Regions from separate parts of the Homo sapiens genome. Here regions 2, 3, 4, 5, 6 and 7 are each linked to region 1. The links are contacts of gene promoters, found by promoter capture Hi-C in blood cells and fetal thymus (Javierre and others, 2016). All regions are on one chromosome and are shown on one strand. The core of a region is centred on a gene start or on the middle of the fragment in contact, and the rest is flanking DNA. Distances in the headings are between cores, read along the strand shown. Region 1 holds the start of STMP1 (short transmembrane mitochondrial protein 1). Region 2 holds the start of TRIM24 (tripartite motif containing 24). Region 3 holds the start of CHCHD3 (coiled-coil-helix-coiled-coil-helix domain containing 3). Region 4 has its middle 4.1 kb from the start of EXOC4. Region 5 overlaps CREB3L2 (cAMP responsive element binding protein 3 like 2). Region 6 overlaps CREB3L2 (cAMP responsive element binding protein 3 like 2). Region 7 overlaps DGKI (diacylglycerol kinase iota).

What was found. The method cuts DNA at HindIII sites, captures the fragments that hold promoters and counts their contacts. A CHiCAGO score of 5 or more calls a contact.
Region 2: the fragment with the promoter of TRIM24 here is called in contact with the fragment with the promoter of STMP1 in region 1 in 1 of 17 cell types (total CD8 T cells); the score reaches 6.2 in total CD8 T cells.
Region 3: a contact is called between the fragment with the promoter of CHCHD3 here and the fragment with the promoter of STMP1 in region 1, in 1 of 17 cell types (naive CD4 T cells). The highest score is 6.2, in naive CD4 T cells.
Region 4: a fragment that was not itself captured here is called in contact with the fragment with the promoter of STMP1 in region 1 in 1 of 17 cell types (non-activated CD4 T cells); the score reaches 10.6 in non-activated CD4 T cells.
Region 5: a contact is called between a fragment that was not itself captured here and the fragment with the promoter of STMP1 in region 1, in 1 of 17 cell types (erythroblasts). The highest score is 5.1, in erythroblasts.
Region 6: a fragment that was not itself captured here is called in contact with the fragment with the promoter of STMP1 in region 1 in 1 of 17 cell types (erythroblasts); the score reaches 7.2 in erythroblasts.
Region 7: a contact is called between a fragment that was not itself captured here and the fragment with the promoter of STMP1 in region 1, in 1 of 17 cell types (M1 macrophages). The highest score is 7.4, in M1 macrophages.

Annotation. Positions count from the first base shown.
Region 1 is chr7:135,661,241-135,663,814 of GRCh38, forward strand. STMP1 (short transmembrane mitochondrial protein 1) reads left to right here and starts at 1,274. Exons shown (of 3, transcript NM_001130929.2): 1 at 1,274-1,354. The coding sequence starts at 1,340. RefSeq lists a silencer at 1,149-1,368 and enhancers at 2,008-2,532, 2,533-2,574. The HindIII fragment of the contact is 1,162 bases long and covers 499-1,660 here.
Region 2 is chr7:138,458,970-138,461,543 of GRCh38, forward strand. TRIM24 (tripartite motif containing 24) reads left to right here and starts at 1,290. Exons shown (of 19, transcript NM_015905.3): 1 at 1,290-1,943. The coding sequence starts at 1,580. RefSeq lists enhancers at 1-255, 659-1,441 and silencers at 952-1,341, 1,402-1,651, 1,682-2,161. The HindIII fragment of the contact is 2,319 bases long and covers 3-2,321 here.
Region 3 is chr7:133,080,786-133,083,359 of GRCh38, forward strand. It overlaps CHCHD3 (coiled-coil-helix-coiled-coil-helix domain containing 3), which reads right to left and starts at 1,305. Exons shown (of 8, transcript NM_017812.4): 1 at 1,072-1,305. The coding sequence starts at 1,152. It also overlaps the pseudogene RNU6-92P. RefSeq lists enhancers at 1,038-1,672, 1,088-1,267, 1,478-1,587. The HindIII fragment of the contact is 4,501 bases long and covers 1-2,505 here.
Region 4 is chr7:133,247,722-133,250,295 of GRCh38, forward strand. No RefSeq gene overlaps it. Among named protein-coding and RNA genes, the nearest start is that of EXOC4, 4.1 kb to the right of the region's middle. The HindIII fragment of the contact is 4,060 bases long and covers 1-2,574 here.
Region 5 is chr7:137,997,331-137,999,904 of GRCh38, forward strand. The region is part of intron 1 of CREB3L2 (cAMP responsive element binding protein 3 like 2); the gene reads right to left. Among named protein-coding and RNA genes, the nearest start is that of CREB3L2, 3.5 kb to the right of the region's middle. The HindIII fragment of the contact is 1,177 bases long and covers 717-1,893 here.
Region 6 is chr7:137,963,909-137,966,482 of GRCh38, forward strand. All of the region lies in intron 1 of CREB3L2 (cAMP responsive element binding protein 3 like 2), which reads right to left. Among named protein-coding and RNA genes, the nearest start is that of CREB3L2-AS1, 12 kb to the left of the region's middle. The HindIII fragment of the contact is 3,676 bases long and covers 1-2,574 here.
Region 7 is chr7:137,677,161-137,679,734 of GRCh38, forward strand. It overlaps DGKI (diacylglycerol kinase iota), which reads right to left. Exons shown (of 33, transcript NM_001321708.2): 3 at 1,397-1,492. Among named protein-coding and RNA genes, the nearest start is that of DGKI, 170 kb to the right of the region's middle. The HindIII fragment of the contact is 1,230 bases long and covers 657-1,886 here.

The DNA.
Region 1 (2,574 bases), core at 24-2,523:
CTTTAAAAGAGAAAGAGAGAAAAAAACACACACATACACAGACCGGAAGACTGACAGAACAGACTCTTTGTGGCGATGATACAAATTGTCAACAGGACCTATGGCCATCCCAGGCAAGAAACCCAGCTAGGCCAGTGAAACTGAGAGCCAACCTGATGAGGCCTGCCAAATGCAACTTCTCTCACTTGTTTTTAGTCACCTGCTTTTAGTGGATTAAAAAACCCACATAGCTAAAGTCACAGAGCTAAACAATATATATCTAAGCTCCCACTATCTTCCTTATGGATAACATCTCTGACATCTGGGTTGCTTGATAAAGGTTTCTTGTTTTTCAGGAAGTTGGGGTCAGTTCTTGTACAGTTTAAACCACCAACCTCTCAACTGGGCCTGCATGAAAGCCCGATGGGTGTCCTTCTGACATTAGAGGGCCAAAACCTCCACACTCAGATCATGCTAAGGATGTCATTTTGTGACCATGTATCCTATAAAGAGCCATGAAGCTTGACTACCTCGCGCAGATAACCCATTGCCAAACTTTTCCTTACCTTCAACCGCCTTTCCCCACACCTCAGACCACCCTGCTCCTCTATCCCATAAATATCCCTAAAACCCATCTTTGGGGAGGCAGATTTGAGATCTGTTCTCCCGTCTCCTCGGCTGGCTGCCTGGTGAATAAACCTTTTCTCTGCTACAAAACTCATCATCTCAGTGACTGGCGTGCGGCACACGGCAGCATGGGCCCCATACGGTACCCAGCCTCTACCTTGATTACACAACACCTGATTACACAACGCTGATTACACAGCACACCTGCGGAGCTTTGAGAGCTACAAGCCTCCTTTCCTCCCCGCAAAGTCCAGCTGGGCCCAAGTAGAGGATGCTGCAAAAGCCCCCACGATTCAGCTGCGAACCTAGGGATGGGACCCGCTGCTCATGCCGTCCTTCTAGGTTAGAGAGCCCTAAACTGGGCTGTGTATCAGAATAGTCCGCGTGCTGAGAATAATATAGATTCCTGGGCCTCGGCCCAGGTTTACAGAGGCGGGATGCTCAAGGATGCCCAGCCAGGCTCGGGACTTGCTCTTCGCAAGTCCTGTCGCGCGCTCGCTGCCCCGCCGGTTCAGGCGGTGAGGCCAACGCGCTCCGCCAGGGGGAACCTGGGCGCTGCGACACTGCAAGTCGTTTCCGGGCGCGGGCTGAGTGGGAGGAGCGGGGCGGGGCGTGGCGTGACCCGGAAGTCGACGAGGGGTTCCGCCCCCCCCGCGCATGGGGAGGTAGGCTCGGACCGGCCCGCGGAGCTGCTGCAGTCCTTCGCGCCCTCCTCGCCCTCCCCACCGACATCATGCTCCAGTTCCTGGTGAGTGGAGCTGCCGAAGAGCGGGGCCCGCTGCCTGGGGCGTGCCTCGGACCCCATTTCCCCCTTGAGGATTGCCGACCCCGCCGACCCGGCCTGGGCGTGGGTCCAGCGGTCCCTTCGTCCCCCGCGCCTGGTCGTCGCCTCGCAGGGCGGCCGTTTTCTTCCTGCCTCCCCAGAAAATCCCTTTGCCAATATTTTTCTGCAGCCATCCAAGTCCCTAAAACTTTGAGGTGTCAGAGAGTGTGCGTTTCCAGAGCTTCTTATTGTGTGCCGCGCCCCGCGCTCATTGTGCAATCTTTGTATTAAAGCTTGTGTGGTCCTTGATGACTTTTCGTAGTCCGCCCCCCTTTCTTTCTGCGCTCCTGTTCCATTACATGGTCGCCGGCCGGTCCCTGCTGTGGAGCCCTGCTAGTTGGCTTTTCTGAGGAGGTAGGAAGGCCAGGAATAAACCGTAAATTAGCCACCTCACGAAGTCCGAGAGGCTAAGTCCTCATCAGACCTTTCAGAGTTGGAGGAATGAGTCAGACACTGGTATACAAGTAATTTTTCCCAAAATGTGTAAGCATGAGTAAGCAGACTATTTCTCTTGGCTCCTTATTTGAGTTAAAAACGAGTTTTCTGGCAAAACTCGGTATATTTCAAAAATTGCTTGGTGAAGGTTCCAGGAGTTGCTCATCAAATTTTCAAGTGAAAGTTTTTCTGCCAAGCTATTGTGCATTCAAAACTTGATGCTTTCAACCTCTATTTTTTTTTATTTTTTATTTTTTTTGAGACGGAGTCTCGCTGTGTCGTCAGGCTGGAGTGCAGTGGCGCAATCTGGGCTCACTGGAACCTCCGCCTCCCGGGTTCAACCGATTCTCCCTCCTCGGCCTCCGGAGTAGCTGGGATTACAGGCGCGCACCAGGATGCTCAGCTAATTTTTGTATTTTTAGTAGAGACGGGTTTCACCAAGTTGGCCAGGCTGGTCTCGAACTCCTGACCTCAAGTGATCAACCCACCTCAGCCTACGAAAGTGCTGGGATTACAGGCGTGAGCCACTGCTCCCGGCTCAAATGCTGTATCTTTTTTTGTTGTTTGTTTTAACGGAGTCCCGCTCTGTCGCCAGGCTGGAGTGCAGTAGTGCGATCTCGGCTCACTGCAGCCTCCGCTTCCTGGGTTTAAGCGATTCTCCTGCCTCAGCCTCCCGAGTAGCTGGTGCGCGCCAGCAGGCCCAGTTAATT
Region 2 (2,574 bases), core at 40-2,539, 2.8 Mb after region 1:
CAAGCTTAAACAGGAACCAATGGGTGGGGGAGGCGGGAAGAGCTGTTGAATGTCTTGTGATTAAGTAAAAGAACCTCTCACTTGAGGCCTACGGAGGTTGTGTTTAAGGGCAAGGTCTTGAAGGAAGGCTACGTTGCCTAGCCCTCCCCCATTGCCATCCCATATAGTCCTCCAGGAAAACTGTGATTTTAGCAAAGCCTTTCATGACCCACTCCATCTTTCTCTAAAGTCCAGTACCGCTTCATTAGTATTGACAAAAAAAAAAAAAAAAGGTAAATACTTCTTAAAGTTACGTGTTACAAAATCTTGTTTCCTTCATTCCGTTTCTATTCTTCAAGTTCCTTAAAAGCTGCGCCATTTTTTGAGTGAAAAATGTGCGTAACTTCTGATATCAGCGTAGAGAGGTGAGGGAGGGAGGGAGGGAATAAAATAAGAGGGAGGGAGGAAATACAAAAGAATCCTGAAGTTATGAATTATTTGGGTAACAGTATTGAGGTTTATTTTTGCTTAATGATGCTATATTTATGCAATAAAAACATTTGTCAATCTGTATTAATTCCTGGGAAAACGAACCACTTTTAGTCACTTAAAAAGCAAATCACTGACTTTAAAAATTAATTTCACCTTTTTCATTGGGGAAACCCTTTAAAAATTTCCAACTTGCACGAGAACTTCCCCCCCTTATTCTTCATACTCATTCATTCTAGAGATGAGTAAAATTAGGTTGCAATATCCCTGCTGCCTCCAGAGTACCTCTTTCACACAGTATTTTAAAAAATTATTTCCTTGTTTGCTCTTCAGTACCTCCACTCCTTCCTCCTGTGACCCTCCGACCATATTTACTCCTCCTACAAGACCAGGTCTCCAGTAATGAAATCAGTTTTCCAAGCAGTTACTTAATTAACGGCATTGAGTAGACAAGTGAGGTCCCGCCCCCTAGGAGGAGCTAACACCGCGGACCGAATCAGGCGGATGGTCGTTAACAAATGAACCCTTAATCTTTTCAGAGGAGGAAACATACACAAAGGCCCAATCAGAAGCCGCGATTTCAGGCGTCCGGAGGGGGCGGGGCTGGGCAAGCACCTCCCACTTCCCAACCTCCCGCCGCGGCCGACGGAGCCTCGCGGGCTCCAACAGGTCCCGCCCCCTCGCCAGGCGCGGCCGCTATTGGGCGGCGCGCTCCACACCGAAGCCTCAGTTGCTGGGAGAGGGAGGGCGGGGGCGGGGGCGGGGCCTGAGGTGGGCCAGGGGGATGAAGAGAAAGGCGGGGAGGCAAGGGCGGGCTGGGCGTATTCCACGAGCGCCTCGGCGGTTGGCGAAGCGGACGGGGTGCAGCCTCCCCGGTGCGAGGAACGGTCTCCGCTGACAGATACCCTCCTTCCGGCCGCGCCACTCGGGAGGCGGATCCCGTGGGCCTGAGGAGGCTTCCCCCGCCCGGTTTGCTTTCCCTCCCTCGCTGGCGCTGCCGCGAGTCCACCGAGCGGCCTCTGAGGAGCAGCCGCAGGAGGAGGAGGAGGTCGTCGGGGGCGGCGGGCGGAGACCGCGCTCTCGCTTCCCCGGCGGCGGCAAGGGCAGGACAATGGAGGTGGCGGTGGAGAAGGCGGTGGCGGCGGCGGCAGCGGCCTCGGCTGCGGCCTCCGGGGGGCCCTCGGCGGCGCCGAGCGGGGAGAACGAGGCCGAGAGTCGGCAGGGCCCGGACTCGGAGCGCGGCGGCGAGGCGGCCCGGCTCAACCTGTTGGACACTTGCGCCGTGTGCCACCAGAACATCCAGAGCCGGGCGCCCAAGCTGCTGCCCTGCCTGCACTCTTTCTGCCAGCGCTGCCTGCCCGCGCCCCAGCGCTACCTCATGCTGCCCGCGCCCATGCTGGGCTCGGCCGAGACCCCGCCACCCGTCCCTGCCCCCGGCTCGCCGGTCAGCGGCTCGTCGCCGTTCGCCACCCAAGGTGAGAACCGGCCGCGGCCGCTGGGGAGCCCGGGGAGAGGGCCAGGAGGGGGCGGGCGCCCTTGTGCGGCGCGACCCGCTGTCATGTCGCCGCCGCCCGGGGTGCGCGGCGGGGGAGGGGCGAGCAGGAGGGTCTGTGCTGGCGACGGTGACATGGAGGGCCCGCGCTCTGCGGCGTGTCGCGCTCGGCCAGCAACTTCCCCGGGCGCTGTGGACTTGACCGCGCCGCCGCCGCCGCCGCTGCTCCGCATTCTCAACAGCCGGGCGGCCCCTGCCACTCGCACTTTTGCAGACCTCTGTCGGAGTCTCCTGCAGCCGGAATCTCGGGTTCTTTGCCGGCTGCAGCCAGTTAACTGCTACCCGCCCGCTGCCTCCACAAAGCTTTGTCCAGGTCCATATGATCCTGATCATCTCGTCTATACTCACGTTATTTGAGCTGCAGGGGAGAAGGGAGGGATGAAGATGAAGTGATGGTGACTTTCTTTGATGATTGATTGCAGATCGGATGTCATTTATTTCTTATCTTGCATGTTTGGGGCTCTTTACCTTAATGAGTTCCCAGTTCTCTTCCCTCTCCTCTGCTGGGGACAAAGGAACCAAGAGACGTTGTTTTGTTGTGTGTCTCTTTCAAA
Region 3 (2,574 bases), core at 55-2,554, 2.6 Mb before region 1:
AGTTTCAGAAGAAAAAGTTTTTAAACATTTTAAATATTTAAGAAGTTTTATTTCCTGGTAACAACTGTTAAAAATAATTTACAAATGTAATTTATTTACGCTGGTTGATAACAGAAAAAAATATATAAATTATTATAAAACTTTCTGAAGTCAAAATTGCTTTATTTACTAGGTTCAGGCATCATACGTCCAAAAATGTGAGGCTCCAAATTCAGGCGCAGCGGAGAGTGTGTTAATGAAGTTAGTGCTGGTATACTGACACCCTAGAGAAAAACCAGGTTTTCAGTTTATGTATCAGGTGCATGCAAAGGGCATTAAAAAAAAAGTGCTCTACAACGTTGGTCAGAAATGACTACATTACTTCTACTGGTATGAAAAACTGCAAACCCATCTCAGCCCCTATCAGACTGGCAGACACTAGTCCTGAAGCAACTGGGCCTAATCCAAAACTTCGGCGCAGCAGGTCACAGAGGAGGCGCCTGGGAAAGAGGAGATATCAAGTGAAAGTGAAGCAGGGAGAAGCCAGAAGCCGCCCCAGGCAGGTCAGAAAAGACTGTGGGGCTGGGAGGGAGGATGACAGGGTGTGGGGAGTGGGTGGGAGGAGGGGGTGTTATCAGAGGGAGAGCACTAAATGACACAAAGCAAAGGCAATCCTTAAAATGCCAATTCACCCTGGGAGACAGGGTGTGCACAGTGGAAAAGCAGGGTTTGGGTCCTGAACCCAGGAAAACCATTTCACAGACAAGTACACCGAGGTATGGGTTTCAAATACGGTCCTGCAACAAGGGAGCAGTACAGTTACGAGTAGACTGTGAGCCCTTGCAGGGTATAATTCAACCTGGCATTCCCCGCCCGCCCCAGCAGTGCCTAGCACTTGGCACAACCAGGAACTATCTCTGAATGAATGTCCCACGTCTTGAAACTCTAGGCTTCTTCCCAGACACCTGGGCTTCTGGCCTTAATACGCTAGGGTCCAGGACGGGAGAAACCCAGGCTGAGCGGGTCCGGAGAAGATGGGGCCTTGGGGTCCGAGTCCAACCACTGGCCCTCCGCCCGTCCACGGGCACTCACCCGGATGCCCTTCACCACGGTGATGTTCTCATTCTCGTCCGCCTCGAAGGTGACCCGGCGGGTGCTGGTGGTCCCACCCATGATTCCGGTTCCTGCCCCAGCGGAGACCTAGCGGGGAACCACGAGCACTTCGGGGCCCCCGCACCCACACGCGCGTGGAAGGGCCTGGATTCTTTTCCCGCACAGCGGGAGCAAGGCCACGACCCCCAGAAGCAAGGAGAAGGCGCCGGTCCTGAGCTCCCGCCTCCTCCGGTCACGCGCCACAACAAAAACGCCTCAGGTTGGTCGGCGATGCGAACTGCCCGCCTCTGTTCGGCGAGGGCGCCCGGATTGGTTCACCCGACCCGGATGCTATGGCAACAGGTGGTGTTTGATAGCTTTCCGCGGAGTCCCTGGGTGTAGTGGGAACTGTGGTCTCGATCTGGCGCGGTGGGTGATGGGACATTCTCTCCCCGCGCCTGAGCGCGCTAAGGGAGCACGGCATTCTGGGAGTTGTGGTTTTGACTCCCCAGAGACGCCTAACTGGGCAACTTTTTGAAGACATAATTCTAGAAATTTAGGCCACTAAGTTCAGAGACACAATCTTTCTCTCAAAGGGACTCACAGTTTAATGAAAAAGATGCATGATACTAATGAAGCCATTCCTAGTGTTCTATACACAAATTCCTGGCTCAAAACTTAGCGTTTCATTACAGTCGTAGGGTAGCTTAATGAAGACTACTTCTGAGAAATGCCTCGTTAGGTGACCCTGTGATATCTGTGGTTGTGCAAACATCATAGAGTGTACTTACACAAACCCAGATGGTGTAGCCTACTACACACCTGGGCTACTTGGTGTAACCTATTGCTCCCAGGCTGCAAAGATGTACAGCATGTCACTGTACTAAATACTGTAGGCAATTGTAACACAGTGGTATTTGTGTGTACAAATATATGTAAACATAGAAAAGCTACAGCAAAAACAGTGTAAAAGTGATTGCTTTGGCAACACATCTAGGACAATTTGAACAATACAGAGATTAGCACAGCCCCTGAGCAAGGTTGACACATGAATTTCTGAAGCATTCCATTAAAAAAAAAATCAAAGATAAAAAATGGTATGCTTCTATAGGGCACTTACCATGAATGGAGCTTACAGGACTGGAAGTTGCCCTGAGTGAGTCAGTGAGTGAGTGGGGAGTTGAATGTGAAGGCCTGGGACGCAACTATGCAGTACTGTACCTTTTATCAACACTGTGCACTTAGGCAACACTAAATTTATTTTCATATATTTTCATTCTTCAAGAATAAATTGACCTTAGCTTACTGTAACTTTTTAAACTTATAAACTTCTTTTTTTGTGACTTTTTGACTCTTTAATAACACTTAGCTTAAAACACAAACACACTATATAGCTGTACAAAAATATTTCTTTCTTTATATACTTAGTCTATAAGCTTTTTCTATTTTTGAAATTATTTACTTTTTACTTTTTAAACATTTTTGTTAAAAATTAAGACAAAC
Region 4 (2,574 bases), core at 24-2,523, 2.4 Mb before region 1:
AATAAAATAAATTAATTAATTTGGGTGTGCTAATTTATTTATCACTTAATTGTATTTCCATTTTGTGATGAAAGTAGGCCATTGTTTCTGACACTTATCCAATTCTCCTTTAAAGGAAGTACTTTTGTGTATTTCTGCTTATAAAAAGCAACACCTGGAAATTTTTTTTTTTTTTTTTTTTTTTTTTAGATGGAGTCTCCTTCTGTCACCCAGGCTGGAGTGCAGTGGCACAATCTTGGCTGACTGCAACATCCGCCTCCCTGGTTCAAGCAATTCTCCTGCCTCAGCCCCCAGAGCAGCTGGGATTACAGGAGCTTGCCAACACGCCCCACTAGTTTTTATGTTTTTAGTAGAGACGGGGTTTTGCCATGTTGGCCAGGCTGGTCTCGAACTCCTAACCTCAGGTGATCCACCTGCCTCGGCCTCCCAAAGTGCTGGGATTACAGGCATGAGCCACTGTGCCCATCCCGGAAACTTTGTAAAACACAGAAAAGTGTAAAAAAAAAAAAAAAAATTACCCATGTTATTGACGCTCAAAACAACTTTGCAATAACCCCAGAGATGTATTTTCAACAAAATTAGTACCATACTTTAGTAATAATAGCTGATATTTACCAAGTGCTGATAATGTATATCTCACATATTCTTACAATAACTCTCTATGTGAAGTACAATGACCACCTGCTTTACAGATAAAGAAACTGAGGCAGAGTAAAGTTAAGTAACTTGTCCTAGGTAATCTAGCCAGGAAGTGGAAAGCTGGGATTGAATCTAGGCCATCCTGCTACACAAACTGCATTTTTTTTTAAGGTGTGGTGAAAAACACATAACATAAAATTTATGACTTTTGACTACTTTAAAGTTTATAATTTACTGACCTTTAATACATTCACAAGCTATGCAACCATTGACTGTAGTTCCAGAACATTTCATCACTCCAAAATGAAACTCTGTATCCATTGAGCAGTCATTCCTCATTTCTTCCTGCCCTGCAGCCCTTGGCAACCACTGATCTGCTTTCTGTCTCTATGAATTTGTCTGTTCTGGATATTTCAGATAAATGGGGTTATACACAATATGGCCTTTTGTGTCTGGCTTTTTTCTGTTAGCATGATTTCAAGATTTATCAATATTGTAGCATATATCAGTACTTTTTTCATTTTTATGTGTGAATAATATTACATTGTATGGATATAGCACATTTTGTTTATACCACACTGATACAGTCATATTGTTGCAGTTCATTCATTGTTAAACATTTGGACTGCTTCCACCTTTAGGCTATTTTGAATGGTGCTTTTATGAATGTTTGTATACAAGTTATTTTCCGAACACTTGTTTTCAATTCTCTTGTGCATATACCTATGAGCGGAATTGCTGGGTCATATGGTAACTTTATGTTTAGTTTTTTAAGGAACCACCAAATTGTTTTCTGCAATGGCTGAACCATTTCACATTCCCAAAATAAATGTACAAGGGTTCCAGTTTCTCCACATACTTGCCAACATTTATTTTCCATTAAAAAAATTGTAACCAACCTAGTGGGTGTGAAGTGGTATCTCATTATGGTTTTGCATTTTCCTATAATGATTAATGATGTCGAGCATCTTTTTATGTGCTTTTTGGCCATTTGTGTATCTTCTTTGGAGAAATGTCTATTCACATCCATTGCCTAGGTTTTAATTTTTATTTCCTTTTGTGTTGAGTTGTAAGAGTTCTTCACATAGTCTAGATACAGAACTCTTACCAGATACTGTATGTGATTTGCTTTTATTCTCTCCCATCCTGTGCCTGTCTTTTCACTTTCTTGAAAAGTGTACTTTGATGTATGAGGGTTTTTAATTTTAATAAAGCCCAATATACCTATTTTTTCTTTTGTTGCTTATGCTTTTGATGTCATAGCTAAGAATCATGAAAATTTACCCTTGTATTTTGTTCTAAGAGTTTTATCTCATATTTAGGTCTTTGATCCACTTTTAGTTAATTTTTGCATATTGTATGAGGTAGGGTCCATCTTCACTTTTTTGCTTATGCTTATCCAGTTTTCAACACCATCTATTGAGGAGACTATTCTTTCCTTATTGAATGGTACTGTCAGCTTTGTTGAAAATCAATTGACTGTTTGGGTGCGGTGGGTCATGCCTGTAATCCCAGCACTTTGGGAGGCTGAGGTGGGCAGATCACCTGAGGTCAGGAGTTCAAGAACAGCCTGGCCAACATGGCAAAACCCCGTGTCTACTACTTGGAAGGCTGAGGCACAAGAATTGCTTGAACCTGGGAGTCAGAGGTTACAGTGAGCTGAGATTGAGCCACTGCACTCCAGCCTGGGTGACAGAAAGAGACTTCGTCTAAAAAAAAAAAAAAAGAAAATCAATTGATCATAGATGAATAGGCTTATTTCTGTATGGCTTATTCTACTATATTTATCTATGTGTTTATTTTTATGCAAGTACCATGCTATTTTGATTACTGCGGATTTTTAGTAAGTTTTGAAATCAGGAAGTGTGAGACCTCCACATTGATTTTTTTTTTTTTCCAAGATTGCTTTGGCTATTTGGGGCTCTTTTAATTTCC
Region 5 (2,574 bases), core at 55-2,554, 2.3 Mb after region 1:
TTCCCAAAAATTATCCACTTCTTGAGCATCCTTCCAGATACAGTTTATACATATATAAAATACATTTTAAAATTTATAGATTATTTTGCTCTTTAAATTGCAAAAGGGGGCTGAGCACAGTGGCTCACACCTGTAATCCCAGCACTTTGGGAGGCCAAGGCAAGAGGGTCCCTTAAACCCAGGAGTTGGAGACCAGCCTGGGCAACATACTGAGATCCCGTTTCTACCAAAAAAAAAGAAGAAAAAAATTAGCCAGGCATGGTGGCACACACTGATACTCCCAGCTACTCTGGAGGCTGAGGTGGGAGGATCACTTGAGCCTGGAAGGTTAAGCCTGCAGTGAGCCATGATTGAGCAACTGCACTCTAGTCTGGGTGTCAGAACAAGACCCATCTCAAAAATAAAATAAAATAAAATAAAATAAAATAGAAATTACAAAAGCACAGACAATTCCCAGAAAGTAATTTTCAGAGAATTTTATAGGAATACAATACAAATGGCAGAAATGTCCAACATACAGGCAGGTCTGGGGAAAGAGGCAAGGTTTCTTCTCACGGTGGTACCGAACCCCAAGAGATATTCTCCTGATTTCTAGATTTGCCATCTTTTCTGAACCAATTTTAGCCTGTATTCCATCTTGAAGCAACAGCTTTCCTAAAATCAGTACTCACTGAATTAAAATAACATTTCATCATCTGTATGGAAACAATTTTTTAAGCTTCAAGAGGAAGCCCAGAGCTTTAGCAATTCAGGATCTAATGATCAGTCCATCTTTGCCCTATCCATATGCTTCATTATTTTGTAGACTCTGAACCTGTCTGCCTTTGTCCTTGTAGACCAAGATGTCTTCATAACTAACCAAATGAAAAAAAACATTGCTCCTAACGGTTAACAGAAGGCTCCTGAGAAACATCATAATCTCAGCCTTGGGTAACTTGAACATTCTAAATTGTTTAAATCAAGTATGTGACAGGTTTGCTAAAACAGAGCATTAGCAATCATGCATGTAGTAACTAAATCCCTAGTAAGAGCAACAAAAGTGATCTCACTAGGAAGGTTTGGTGGCTGCCACTGTCAGCCTCATTTAAACATTAGCTGCTTTCAGGCTCAGCAGTTCCTATATTCCAATCACTCTCTCCCAACCTCTTATTCAGTTCCTTCTCTTTAAGTCAGGATTCTTCACTCAGACAGCCTGATAGGCAAGTACTTGCAGGCAGGCAAACATGGGTTTGAATCCTGGTTCTATCACTAAATAGCTGTGGGAACTGAGCCAAGTGGCTTAAACTCACGAAGCCTCATTTTTCTTATATGTAAAATAAAAGTAATAAAAATGGCTCATTTCACTGGGTCATTACAAGGGTTAAATGGCATAATATTTGTAAAGCACTAGACACAATGTCTTTCAGCAGGACCAGCTACGTAATTTGTGAAACCCAGTGCAAAATGAAAATGTAAGGTCCCCAGTTCAAAAAGAATTAAGATTTTCAAGATGGTGACAGCACAGCATCAAACCAAGTGTGGACCCCGTGGCACTGCATGGGTGGCAGGCCATGTGGTCAGCCCTGCCTTTCGGATGATAAACACTCAATAGATGGTAGCTGTCATCATCTCTTACCACCCTCACAACTCGTATTTGAACCTCACCCTCCCCTCAGGCTCTCTTCAACTTGGAAAGTTTTATGAAATCATTCCAAAAACAGGCACTGGTGTCTCAGAAGCACCCAGAGTTTATAAGACAAATAACTCACCAAAATGAGTAATCTGAAATACATGATATTAACACAGTCTCATGAAAATGCACACCTACCTTAGGCCTTTGCTCTAGTTCTTCATCCTGCTGAGCTAACACTCTTACCTCCTTCCAATTTTTGTTCAGATCCATTTTCTATGGGAAGCTTGCTCTGATCACTCAGTTCAATCCCATAGTTTGCTCTTCTTCCACCTTGTATTCTCTATCCCCCTCACCTTGTTCTACTTATACGTTTTCCATAACACTTATTTCATCCAACATAATCACTTCTTTATAATGTTTATTGTTTATGTTCCCCTACACACACACACACACACACACACACACACACACACACACGAATATAAGCTTCTAGAAGTCAGGGATTTTGTCTGCTTCTGTTCACTCATGTTTCCAAGTGCTTTATATATTCCACAAATATTAATCGAAAGAACAAATATCTCTCTGACTGAATGAATAATCAGGCCATCCTTTTTCTACATAAAGATTCAGCTAGAGTAACAAACAGCTCTGCCCCTGGATATCTAACAGAGTTCAGGAAACAGATGGGAAAATTATCTCCCCACCTCTCCCAAACGTCCCTTAGTTTGAGAGAAATATAACCCAATCATTTGTGCTGCTAAACCAATACCTCTTTCAACAGTAATTCATATGCACAGTTTGTTGCACTGACTTGCAGCAATGATGAGCAGCATTTTACAGGAATGAGCTGTTCACAACAGACATGTACCTAAGTGGAGGACATAATAAGCATTTTTTAAAAATAGAAATAAAAGAAAAATAATCACACATTCCTGCTTTATCACAATGACAGAAAAACTGGG
Region 6 (2,574 bases), core at 42-2,541, 2.3 Mb after region 1:
AATAGAAATGAACAAATGATGACAACACCAAAGTAAGAATGTATCACAATCTGTTTTCAGCTGAAATAAATTCCTAGAAGATCCTTTATCCCTTTTAAGATGGCCATGTTAAAGAAACACTTGCGGCCAGGCGCGGTGGCTCACGCCTGTAATCCCAGCACTTTGGGAGGTCGTGGCGGGCGGATCACCTGAGGTCAGGAGTTCGTAGACCAGCCTGGCCAACATGGTGAAACCCTGTCTCTACTAAAAATACAAAAATTAGCCAGGCGTGGTGGCAGGCACCTGCAATCCCAGCTACTTGGGAGGCTGAGGCAGGAGAATCACTTGAACCCAGGAGATGGAGGTTGCAATGAGCCAAGATCATGTCATCGCACTCCAGCCTAGGGGACACGAGCGAGACTTCCTCTCAAAACAAACAAAACAAAGCAAAACAAACAAACAAACAAACAAACCCTTGCTTAACCCACTAGCATGTCTCTGGCTCCCAAAACACTTGTCACTACCAAATCAATCATGTGTTTCGACAGGGGAATGTTTTCCTCCGTGTTTAGCCTTTTGAGCACTCAGCATCTAGACTAAAGCACCCAAGGCTATTGACCCATCAAATACAAAAATGTTAAGCCATCTAGAAAAACCAGATCATTCAGTTAAAGGCTTTCTTTGTGCCTCCTGCACTCCCACAAAGATGGGGAGGGAACAAGCATGATATGCAAGGTAATCAATATTGAACAATCCAATATTGAAAACAAACGGACTGCTTTCAAATTCTTTAAATTCTACCATTCTTTTCAAATTATAGAGAGTCATAATCCAGTAGTGATATGGTTTGGCTTTGTTCCCACCCAAATCTCACCTTGAATTGAGCTCCCATAATTCCCACATGTTGTGGGAGGGACCTGGAAGGAGATAATTGAATGATGGAGGCGGTTTCACCCATACTGTTCTCATGGTAGTGAATACATCTCATGAGATCTGATGGTTTTATAAGGGGAAACCTCTTTTGCTTGGCTCTCAATTATCTCGTCTGCCACCACGTAAGACGTGCCTTTTGCCTTCCGCCAACCACGTGGAATTGTGAGTCCATGAAACCTCTTTTTCTTTATAAATTACCCAGACTCAGGTATGTCTTTATCAGCAGCGTAAGAACAGACTAATACAAGTAGTGACCAAACTCTAGTTCTACTACAGAGATTGTCCAACCGGGGAAACAAAATAGATAAAGAAACTGCCCATAAGGTAACATTCTAAATTCAACTATCTCTAAAGCCAGAGTTAGATCAAGGGACAGGATAGTGCTCAAACTGTTGCCAACTCCAGTAATTACTGCTTCCTCAGATTACTTACGATTTTTCTATAAACAGAAATTTAGTCTGTCTCCTTCTGTCTTTCCAACACGCAGTATCAACACACATGCGCACAAATATATTTACACTCGTTGAGGAAAACATGGCCAAAAAGACAGAAACGTGAACTTTTGCTAGTTTAAGCATTCCATTTTTTCCCTTAGGATAATTAAATCGAATCAATGACAAAAGCCCCTTGATTGTGAGGCTTTGCAATCTACATCTGAAATATCAGAATATTGTTAATATTAAAATGTTAATAGAACACACAGGTGAGTAGACCAATGCTATTGGTTCTTCTGGAATACTTCCTTAAGTTATTTTACAAAGAACCCTGGTCTCAGGAAGCACTGATTAAAGTTTCAAGGAAGTGACACAGCCCATGTTATAAGCAAGGACATAGAAAGCCCTAGGTTCTCCAGCCAAACACTGCAACTATCTGCAAAGCTCTCTCTTCTACGGTAAAGAGAGTTGACCAGGGTAACGTCCACTCAAAATCCCACTCCACTTAAAACTATGGGATTCTATGCCTGAGGAGGAGCAAAACAAAGTGCTATTATTTATGTCAAAATGGGCAACTGGGAGAAACACCTACTGAATCTAGCCTCCTCCTCTAGGGCAGGAATGCTTAAACCTGAGGGTGTATCACAATCACCTGGAGAGTTTATTAAAACACAATGGGTGCATCTCACCCTAGAGTTTCTAATTCAGTAGGTCTGCAGTGGGGCCCAAGAATATGTCTTTCTACCAAGTTCTCGTATGCTTTGCTGGTCCATAAAGCACACTCTGAGAACCACTGGTCTTCCAAAGAAGGAATCTGATGTTCACTGATGGCATCAAGGACTTAGGTGAACAGAAGTTGGGAGGGGCATCAAGACAGAGGAGCCAAAGAAGATACAGATCAGAGACAGGAAGTGCAAACATGTGAAAAGTTATGAAATTCCTCCAGAGAGTGGAAAAATAAGGGCTAGTTGCATCTTCTTAAATTATATCCCACTATGTCTTACTGCATAATTTGTAAAATAGATTATATGTTACTTGCTTACATACTTTAAAAAATTATGTCCAATAAGTTTGGATGGTAATGTGATGCACTTTCAGAAAGCAGGTTAAAAAAAGCAAATTCAGTCAACAAAGAAAACTGTTAATACATTGGTGCTCCCTCCAGTGGCTCAGGGAGAAGGAGGAGCACTATCCTTGATATGGAATTGGAATATTTAAGAAGTGTATG
Region 7 (2,574 bases), core at 22-2,521, 2.0 Mb after region 1:
AATACATATGCATAAAGTTGAAATCCTGATATTTAAGTCAATTAAATTTACAACAAAATTAGAAGAGAAGCAAATGATTAATTACAGGTCTAGAAACAAAAATAAATTAATAAAAAAGAATTTAATCCTACTCTCTGTTTTAGAAGGTAGCCAAGGCCCAAAGGTCACGAGTTCTCAATGTCACACACTGAGCAGTAACACTGAGATTCAGCTCCAGGTTTCCCGACTTCCAATCCAGAGCCTGTTCATCTGGGTCTTTCCCTGACATTGATTCCCAACTTCACTTAAACAGGCCCTGTTCTCCCCAGAACTCTCAAAACTCTCCAAATGAAATTTATAAACAAGGAGTTAAAACAGCTAAAGCAACAAAAAAGGTCTTGGTTCTGGGACTTTGTGCTTTTAGGCAGCCTGGTTAAAATCGTTGGGGGCTATACATATCCTTCTATAAGCTTTGATGGAAACTCGATTTATTCCATATTGGTTATTAACAAACACATATTCATCTGCAATTTCAAGGCCCTACATCTTGCTGCAAATATTTCTTTCACATAATAAACAAATATTTTTTTAAAAAAGAAAAAAGCATTCTATAAATTCTGGTGCTAATTTCCCCAAATAAGAAGGAATACATCTTTTATCTCTTCTTTACTATCCTAAGCTTCCCATTACTGTCTGTTTGGACCAATCATTTAAAACTACACACAAACTTTAAGTTCAATTTCTCAACACTGTGGTTTTGATATCTCCACAATGCACTACTTGGCAACCACACTTACCTCACAACATAAAGAGAATTTTAACCCTCTAAATAGATTGTTCTAAATAGGGACACAAAGCAAATTTTAAACAACAAAAGTTAACTCCAATTGACCTGACTGTTGATTGTTTATATTATTTCTAGAATCGTATCCTCCAGAACTTAGTCTGGATTATTTGTTAGCCTACACCCATTCCCAGCACAGGTGTTTCCCTCTCTTTCCACCTTCACCCACCAGTAAAGCCCCCACTGTGGCCACTTCCCTACAGACAGAGCCCCTTCCTCCACACACAGGCCTTGGCCCCACACCAACAACTCCTCCATAAGGAGACACTACCTCGTACACATTTACCCTCTGCCCCCCACCAACACACAACAACCTACCCTGGGCATCATTATAAAGTAACACATGACACCAAGGCCTGGCCTGCATAAGTGAACCCTAAAACCATTACGAGCGACAACCTGAAAGCCATGTTAACTTGAGAAACTCTCTGCAAACCTTGAAAACATCCGGAAAGTTTTCCATCTCACAAGGACAGGCTCGTTCAAACCTCCCCTTGGAAATTTAGGCAAGGTGACCCCTCTATTCATTCAGATCCACAGGCCTTCCCCCAGCAAGACGGAGCGCACACTCACTGCAAATCTGACTTGGCAGTTCTCCTCTCCAAGGTAGCAGAGGTCTCCCGAGACGTTGGTCTCCAGCCACAGGTGTTCTCCATTCACGGCATTCTCCTGCAAGGAAAAGACCCACCTGACATCAATTTTTTTTTTCCAGGGATAAGGAAAACTATTTCAAATTTAGATTTGGGATACAAGAAAGTTAGTGAAACCAAGGAGTCTAAACATTTCTCATTTGACCACTAAAAGTACTGCTAGAGTTGATTCTCCCGAAATTCTAAAAAGGGAGAAAGGTGTTTGGAAAAACTTTGAGCTATAACTAAAATAAACATTAGGTTTATAGCTGCTTTATCCATGGAGGTGGACATTTTTGAAACATATTCAACAAATGAGGAAAAAACACCTCTAAATAGTTCGATGTCAAACCTTATTCACCAGGCCCACCACTGCAAATGTCATGACAACTGAGACTAAAATTATATTAAAATTTGACTTTGCTTAGTGAATAAGCTTAACAAATTAGCTAAAAAGGAGGATGGTAGCATTAAAGTATTTTAAGTAAAGACAGTTTGAAAACACAGTTATACCAGTAATAGGTAAATTATATTTCTAAGGGCAGAGGCTTCTTAAAACTAAGTCCCTGTGTACTCAAAGCATAATACGTTTCTGCTAATTCACATCTTACTAATTCAGTAAGGTCTTCACCCAATTACTTCTCAATTTTTCAAACTAAATGTTATTGCTTCTAAAAATATTCATATACTTTGGATGGGGAACAGAGCTGCTAGAATGTATGACCTGATGAGCAACAACCCTATTTTCCAGAAATGTGTAGTGCGGTATTGGGGAAAGGGGGAAGCAAACTGTTTTTTTTTTTTTTTAATCGTACGATGAATAGAATTCCATATTCCTTCTTATGGGACTCTATCTTGGAAATTATAGATTTATATATTAATTGTATATTTTGCTCATTTGCTTAAAAGGAGCTCTGAGCTGTTAGGGAAAGTATTGTATTAGATTAACCATAAAGAAACAAGACTAAGTCTCCATGGCTTACAGGAAAATTACTCTTGTTTTTATTTTATTCATCAGATGTACATGGGCATGTAATTATTTTTTATGGGGGATACTATGGACTAAACTGTGTCTCCTCAAAAATCATATGTTGGCCAGACACGGTGGCTCACACCTGTAAT